3 separate regions of the Homo sapiens genome follow, and all the other regions are linked to region 2. The links are contacts of gene promoters, found by promoter capture Hi-C in blood cells and fetal thymus (Javierre and others, 2016). All regions are on one chromosome and are shown on one strand. Each heading gives the region's core, a stretch centred on a gene start or on the middle of the fragment in contact. The rest is flanking DNA. Distances are from core to core; before and after follow the strand shown.

Region 1 (2,700 bases), core at 12-2,511, 2.4 Mb before region 2:
TATCAGCTGAAAAGTCTGTCTCCTTTTCATCCCAGTCCTCAGCAGCAGTTTTAAAATTTATCGGGATAATCCATGCATATACAAGTATATCTGTGTGTGTATGTTATAGAAATATTTTTGTTTTGCTTATTTTTAACAGGTAGTATTATCTTGAAACATAAAAAATATCCTGGAGATCATTCCACATTAGTATACACAGAGCTACCCTCTTATTTTTAAAGGTTACAAGGTGTTTCACCATAATATACCATAATTATTTCACTGGTACCCTAGTGATGGACATTTAATCATTTCCAGTCTATTATATGCAATGTCATAGGACATCCTTGTATATATATTTTTGCATATATATGTGCACATCTATGTGGGATAAGTTCCTGGAAGTGAAAGAACATGTACATTTTAAATTTTAATAGATATTGCCAAACAATCCAAAGGTCTTCAAGATATTTTGGTCATGGCTAAAACACCTTCAACAGTACTCTTGTAGCTTTTAAGATCTAGTAGTGTGCAGTTCTTAGAAGGTGCTTTAGAATCTGGATCCTGCTTACTTCTCTGGCTACTTTTTCATCTTTCTCTTACTCTTCAACCCCCACTTCAAGCTCCCATTGTACTCCATTAAATCCATTCCCAAACATTATGATCTCTCTTTGTCTTCTGCCTTCACACGTCTACTTTAAAAACCTTTTCTCTATCCTCATCATGAAGAGTCAGACTTCTCAACAAGAAGCACACAATTCGGGCCTTTCTTTTCCCAAAGTTTTTCCCAGCCATACACTGTGCCCAAGCCCAGTTTTGATAAGGTACTTCTCTTTTGTATTCTGACAGCATTCTGTACTTCTAATATTGCCTTTATCTTACTGCAGCACAATCTTCAAAGATTTTGTCTCCATGAATAAATATGAGCCTCTTGATAGCAGAGACATCATCTTAGCACAGCTCTTTGTGGTTTTGCTAAATTAAATTGTACTTTTGCTAAATTACATTTTGAAAGATTCAAAAACATATCGTTGTGCTACTTTAGTTTTACTACAACAGTTAAGATGTTTTATTGACCAAACTGAAAGTAATTATTCTTGCTTTAATGATTACTAAACCCAAATGACACTTATATAAACCTTTAATAGAATCCAGACAAAATTCTCACCTGAGTTTTGTTGAAACTGTACATAATATTGATGACTGTAAATGGAGTGAGATGGTAATGCTGAGCATGGTAATTAACCTGTAAAAAAGATATTTCATTATTTTTTTCTGTTAATGTTTTGTCAAGAAATAACAGAGCCATGAAAGAAATATGGTGGAATTGCAGTATAAACAAAAGTTAATTCCAAAGTCAACATAAATTACACATAAGCAAAATTACTCTTAAAAGTGCTTTAAATAACCTATTAAAAGTACAGTATGTATGGTTATATAAATACAATCTGAAGACCAATGCATAATACACACAGTACTGTAGACTATATAATAAAGAGGGTCTTATTTGATATTTGGTTTGCCTTAAACAACTGAATTACATCTCCCAACTCATGTTCATTTTAGGCAAGCATTTTTCAAACTGTACTTGGCAACTGACTGGTATATGAAATCAACTGGGGGAGTGTCAAAACAATATTTATTATGTGAAACAATAAAATATTAGAATGTATTACATTCTAATGGTATTATTTCATAAAACATTTAAAAATAATATATTTGTTACTTATATGTAATGTATCCATTGGATCTCCATGTTAATATTACTACAATGTAAAATATATATCTGAAATACACTGTTCTGTGGCACATACAGTCAATGCTACTTTAATGGTATTTCTGTATACATACTTTTCAGTGCTAAGCATGAACAGATTAATTTATAATGATTTATACTGTTTTGAACTCTAACAGCTAACAAATACAGGAAGCATTACTTTACAGAGAAAGTGGGTTATAACAGGACGGGCGCAGTGGCTCACACCTGTAATCCCACCACTTTGGGAGGCTGAGGCGGGCGGATCATGAGGTCAGGAGATCGAGACCATCCTGGCTAACACGATGAAACCCCGTCTCTACTAAAAATACAAAAAATTAGCTGGGCACGGTGGCGGGCTCCTGTAGTCCCAGCTACTCGGGAGGCTGAGGCAGGAGAATGGCGTGAACCCAGGAGGCGGAGTTTGCAGTGAGCCGAGATCATGCCACTGCACTCCAGTTTGGGCAACAGAGCGAGACTCCGTCTCAAACAAACAAAAAAAAAAAGTGGGTTATAACAGAGTTTGCAAGTGGGGTCCACTGACTCCTGAGGGCCCCATTACCCTTTCAGGGGCTTGACAAGTTCAAAATTATTTTCCTAGTGATTACTAAGATATAATTTCCTTTTTTCACTGTCTTGACATTTTCACTAATGGTACAAAAGCAATGGTAGGTAAAACTCCCAGCTCATTAGCACAAATTGAGGCAGCACCATCAAACTGTATTTTCGTACTTACAGTAATTTTTCACCTCATTTACCCATAGAGAGAAAAAAGCAACCTTCATATAGTAATATCCTTGACAATGAAGTAACAAAATGTTAATTTTATGAATCCTTGACCTTTGAGTACACATCCTCTTTCTAATTAATATCCTGTGTGTTACATAAGGAAGTAAGATTGCTGTCATGAGGAAAGCACTTGTATGATAGAACTGCAAGCTAAACTAGCCACTTTTTTCACGGAA
Region 2 (2,700 bases), core at 22-2,521:
AGTGGTCTTCTCCAAGCCACTGGGCCTTGAATATTGCAATACTTCTTCCTCAGTCAGCTCTCTCAAGTTATCCTTAGCAGATTTTTTTTTAAACACCTGCCACTTCTCTTCCACCCTTCAGCAGGTAACCAAGCTCTATCTGAAGCAAAACAGAAACCAACAGAAAGGAACTCTTTCACCTTCCTGCTAGAAACATCCACCTCTCTGTATCCGTCCTTTATCTACCTTTCCTCATTCTCTGTAATCACAATGAAGAAAGTATCCTTCCTAAAGCACTCTCCATTCCACCTTCTCCTCTTATTTCTCTCACTAGAGTGGCTCATTCCCATGGTATTTGCCTCCTCTAATTTTTCGCTTGTGAAAGCTAACCTCTCCGCACCAGGTACCGCTCTAGCAGCTGCCCTAGCTCTTTAGCCTCGATATAGTCAAACCTTCTAAAGGACTGCCTGCATAGCTGTTTCCTCTTTCTCATCTGGATCACCAACGTTTGTCATATAGCAGGCACTGCACCGTCATGTTTAAAATATACAACAGACGGCTAGACAGGATTCCGAGGGTGTAGACAATAAAGTGATCTACAGTTTGTAGCCTGGGTGTTGAATGGCTCACTGGGTGGGGAAGCTGTTATCTTTCTGCTGTGCACAGGTAATTTGATATATGCTTTCATTCTGAAATAAAGTTGTGGAAAGGCAGTAGTACGCAACAATTAAGAAAACACAAGTGGGTAAACAGTGGTGCCGCACAACCAATCAACCCCTCACATGACTTCGGTGCGCATCACCCAGGGGCCGCATCTGCCACTCTGCCCGAAGCGCGGTCAGCGCCCACACTGGCCCTTCCGGCGGAACCCGCCTCGCGGCTTCGAAGTGGCCTCGGTTTCCGAGTCAGGGGTGGTGACAGGGGTGGAAGGTGAGGGGAAGAGCCCAGCGGCTCCCGGCCAATGGCAGCTCTTGAACTTACACCTCGAGACGTCAGCGCGGCTGTGTAAACGGATGTCACACAGCTGGCTCGGAAGTGTCTCCTCCCGCCTCAGAAACGCGGCGCACGCCCAGCAGCTTCGGAAAAACCTTAGGCGGTGGGAGGGAGGGGCGTGCGCCGCACCCCGCAAGCCCAGAGCTCCGTGCCCTAGCCGGCCGGCTTCTTCCCGTAGTGCCGGTGTGACGGCCGTCCCGGGTGAGCAGCCGGGTGCCGGCGTCCCCGCCACGAGCGCGCCACCGCAACTGGCTCCGCCCCCTGCCGGAACGGGCCGCGCGCTCCTGCGGCTCCGAGCAGAGTCGCGGGTGCGCGCGCCGGCGGCGGATCCGCAGTTAAAATGGTCCGAGCGGGACCCGGCCTTTCCCCGGCCGCTCCGCTGACTGACTGAGCCGGCTGGCCGGGCCCGGACTGGTCGCCTAGCCGGCAGGCTCGCTCGCTCCCTCCCTCGCGTCCCCAAAGCTCGCGCCCATCGTTCTCCCGGCTTCCCTGGGCAAAGCATGTAGCCCCCGTCGGGCACTCCGGCGGCCCGCAGCTGACGCCCACCCCCCACCGTCGCGTGTGTGCCCGTGTGTGCGTGTGTGTGCGCAGGAAGGGCGACCCCTCCGGGGGCCGAGCCAGCGAGCGGCCTGCCCCGCTGCCGGGAGCCCGCCTCTCTGGGTCTCCCTCCCTCCCGTCCCGGTCCCCCTCCTCGGGGCCTTCTATATGGGCCACCTTCTCTCGAAGGAGCCGCGTAACCGCCCGAGCCAGAAGAGGCCTCGCTGTTGCAGTTGGTGCCGCCGCCGGCGCCCTCTCCTCAGGCTGCCCCGCCGGACCCCAGCCAAGGTGCCCCCTCAGCCGGCGGCGCCCCGGAGCCGGGACTGCTTCTTCCGCGGGCCCTGCATGCTCTGCTTCATCGTGCACAGTCCCGGCGCGCCCGCCCCCGCCGGCCCAGAGGAGGAGCCGCCGCTCTCGCCGCCGCCGCGGGACGGGGCCTACGCTGCCGCCTCCTCCTCTCAGCACCTGGCGCGGCGCTACGCGGCCCTGGCCGCCGAGGACTGCGCCGCTGCTGCCCGCCGCTTCCTGCTATCCTCGGCCGCCGCCGCCGCCGCCGCTGCCGCCTCGGCTTCGTCGCCCGCCTCCTGCTGCAAAGAGTTGGGGCTGGCTGCGGCCGCCGCCTGGGAGCAGCAGGGCCGAAGTCTCTTCCTGGCCAGCTTGGGGCCGGTGCGCTTCCTGGGGCCGCCCGCCGCCGTGCAGCTCTTCCGGGGGCCGACACCGTCACCGGCCGAGCTCCCTACGCCCCCCGAAATGGTGTGCAAGCGGAAGGGGGCCGGGGTCCCCGCCTGCACCCCCTGCAAGCAGCCCCGCTGCGGCGGCGGGGGCTGCGGCGGCGGCGGCGGCGGCGGTGGCGGGGGAGGGCCTGCGGGGGGAGGCGCTTCGCCGCCCCGGCCCCCCGACGCCGGCTGCTGCCAGGCCCCGGAGCAGCCCCCGCAGCCGCTCTGCCCTCCGCCCTCTTCTCCCACCTCCGAAGGTGCCCCCACCGAAGCTGGCGGGGACGCTGTCCGAGCCGGGGGCACCGCCCCCTTGTCCGCCCAGCAGCAGCATGAATGTGGCGACGCGGACTGTCGGGAGTCCCCCGAAAACCCCTGCGACTGTCACAGGGAGCCGCCCCCCGAAACCCCAGACATCAACCAGCTGCCGCCGTCCATCCTGCTCAAGGTGGGTCTGGGCGAGAGGCGCAGGGATGCT
Region 3 (2,700 bases), core at 154-2,653, 2.3 Mb before region 2:
TGTGCTATTCTCGTGATGGTGAATAAGTCTCACAAGATCTAATGGGTTTATCAGGGGTTTCTGCTTTTACTTCCTCCTCATTTTTATCTTGCTTTCACCATGTAAGAAGTGCCTTTCACCTCCCGCCATGATTCTGAGGCCTCCCTAGCCATGTGGAACTGTAAGTCCAATTAAACCTCATTTTGTTCCCAGTTTTGGGTATGTACTTATCAGCAGCATGAAAACAAACTAATACAGTATCAAATAGAAATTATTTACAATTAAGTTATACACTCCATGGCAAAACTAAACTGATATCACATAATATCAAAAATAGTTAAGAAATTGTCATCTAGAAAGTTGTTAAATTACAAAATCAATATTAATTCTAATGCAACAGTTCAAACTGATAAATATTTTTTCATGGCTATAGTTTTTTCCTATGATTCACTTTTGGTGTCAGATTGTTTTCCCTGGAAAATCAATTCTAATCTAGGAAGGTAATTGCAGTATTATGGACTAATTTGAATCGTGTCAGTGAAGATGCTAATAGCCTTGATTCCAAGCAACTGGAGGACTGAAGCTTAAGGTTTGAGAAATATGATTGAAGAAAATATAATGCATATTTTAAATTGTGTAACTTACTAATAGTTTCATCTCTTTCCTGACTTTTTAATGAGTACTCACTAGGTAGATTTCTCTAGGTAAAATTTTGATAAGTGCTATATAAGAGCACTCAGAATGCTAAGGAAACATTGAAGGATGTCTTCTAAGTTATCCTGAGAGAACAGTCATTGCGTTGGAAGGCTTCTAAAATGAGGTGTCTTCCCAGGTGAATGTGTCACTTTGGTTGAAGATAACAGAAACTCAATTTGTTACTTTAAACAGAAGATTTGACAGGATAATCAGGGTTTATAGAATTGATGGAAGGCTGTAAGTCAAGGATTGAAATGGACAGGAAAAAAAAATGCTGTTCTAGAGGACCAAGAAGCAGGAGGTACCACAACTGTCTTTTGGCAGGAAAATCTGTAAGGGTGCTGCTATCATGGCCCAAGGCACAGTTATTGCTACTTTCATCTTGATATTATCTGCTAAAAATTCAAATTCTTAAACTAGAACACATACTTGGCCAAACTTCTGTCATATTCCAACACAGAGTTCTGAGAAAATATAATCTGCCGTTTTTGGCTTTTGTAGTGGATGATGAAACACCACTTCCCATTCATATTACATGAAGAATTCCCCAGGTAGCATGGAAGGGTGATTGGATTCTCCAGATCCAAAATGTTGACAAATGTCTAACATCCGAGTCTTGATCAAGAGTAAGCATTTACCTGGTGTGTGGTTATTAGGGAGCAGGGGGTGGTATGCGTTTGTGTGAGTTTGTGGCAGCAGTTGAGGAGTGAGTGGGCAAGTATATTTTCAGACAGAGGAAGAGCATGCATGAGGTTATTAAGAAACGAGAGCTCATGATATGTTTAGGAAACTTAAAATATTTTTTAATTGATTACATAGCAGTGGAAAAAGTTTTAAAAATAAAGAAGACTGGGCCAGGCACGGTGGCTCACGCCTTTAATCCCAGCACTTTGGGATGCCAAGGTGGGTGGATTACCTGAGGTCAGGAGTTCGAGATCAGCCTGGCCAACATGGTGAAACCCTGTCTCTACCAAAAATACAAAAATTACCCAGGCGTGGTGGCAGGCGCCTGTAATCCCAGGTACTCGGGAGGCTGAGGCAGGAGAATCGCTTGAACCCAGGAGGTGGAGGTTGCAATGAGCTGAGATCGCTCCATTGCACTCCAGCCTGGGGGACAAAAGCGAGACTTCATCTCAAAAAATAATAATAAAATAAAATAAAAAAGACTGGTAAAAAAAAAAAAAGCAGAAAAAAACTGGGCAAGTAGGCAATGATATAGTTTCTGAAAGCATAATTGTGCCATACTAAGGGGTTAGGATGGTTTTGACATGCTTATTTTCCTAATTGCTAATTAATGGCCATTTTAGGATTATATATATATAGGTATATATATAATAATTTGAAAAAATTAGATTTGTCTTGTCAAAACTTCAATGTAGATGACTAATTAAAGGGAGAAAGGGGAGGTATGACTTTATTAGATTTATTTTTCTTACATAAATTTTCTAAATATTCTTGTCATTTTTTAAAATCATTGTGGGTCTCCTATTAGCTTAATATTATTGTGACTCTAAGGTTATACCAATATTATCTTAAAATTATTTAAAATTATTTCCTGTTTTAAGCTTCATTCCTCTGAGATTTATTGTTGCTATGGTATGAGATAGTAGTTCAGATTTATTTTCTTTCAAATTGTGCTCAGCCTCTGTACAGTTTTTCCCCACTGAGTTAAAATGGCAAATTTATCATATATAAATTTTATGCTTTTTCTGTAATCTTTCATTCTACTGATATATATATAAATAAAATCAGTAGATACATATATAAAATCAGTAGATATATTTAGAATAAGTAGATATGTGTAATATATATATATATGTATTTGTGAATTCTTCCTTATATAAACTTGTTCTGTTGTCTTCACTGTAGAATCGATGGGGTGACTTTTTTTCTCTAAACATGCTATAGTTTCAACTGATTCTTATATTATGGAGAAGAATTTTTTATTCGGCCTTCCTTTTATTCCTTTTTAATTCAATCTTCATTTGATTATGAATAACCTGGTTAACAGTTTGTATTTTTTTA

Evidence for each region. Contacts are between HindIII fragments. The CHiCAGO score rates a contact against its expected background, and 5 or more counts as called.
Region 1: a fragment that was not itself captured here is called in contact with the fragment with the promoter of FBXL17 in region 2 in 3 of 17 cell types (total CD4 T cells, fetal thymus and naive B cells); the score reaches 6.9 in total CD4 T cells.
Region 3: a contact is called between a fragment that was not itself captured here and the fragment with the promoter of FBXL17 in region 2, in 1 of 17 cell types (monocytes). The highest score is 6.1, in monocytes.

Annotation. Positions count from the first base shown.
Region 1 is chr5:110,744,794-110,747,493 of GRCh38, reverse strand. SLC25A46 (solute carrier family 25 member 46) reads right to left here. Exons shown (of 8, transcript NM_138773.4): 4 at 1,148-1,225. Among named protein-coding and RNA genes, the nearest start is that of SLC25A46, 7.1 kb to the right of the region's middle. The HindIII fragment of the contact is 6,336 bases long and covers 1-2,700 here.
Region 2 is chr5:108,380,669-108,383,368 of GRCh38, reverse strand. It overlaps FBXL17 (F-box and leucine rich repeat protein 17), which reads left to right and starts at 1,271. Exons shown (of 9, transcript NM_001163315.3): 1 at 1,271-2,670. The coding sequence starts at 1,678. RefSeq lists an enhancer at 901-1,020 and silencers at 1,121-1,370, 1,571-2,320, 2,341-2,420. The HindIII fragment of the contact is 13,285 bases long and covers 1-2,700 here.
Region 3 is chr5:110,728,012-110,730,711 of GRCh38, reverse strand. It overlaps a transcript of TMEM232 not described here. Among named protein-coding and RNA genes, the nearest start is that of TMEM232, 2.7 kb to the right of the region's middle. The HindIII fragment of the contact is 1,678 bases long and covers 565-2,242 here.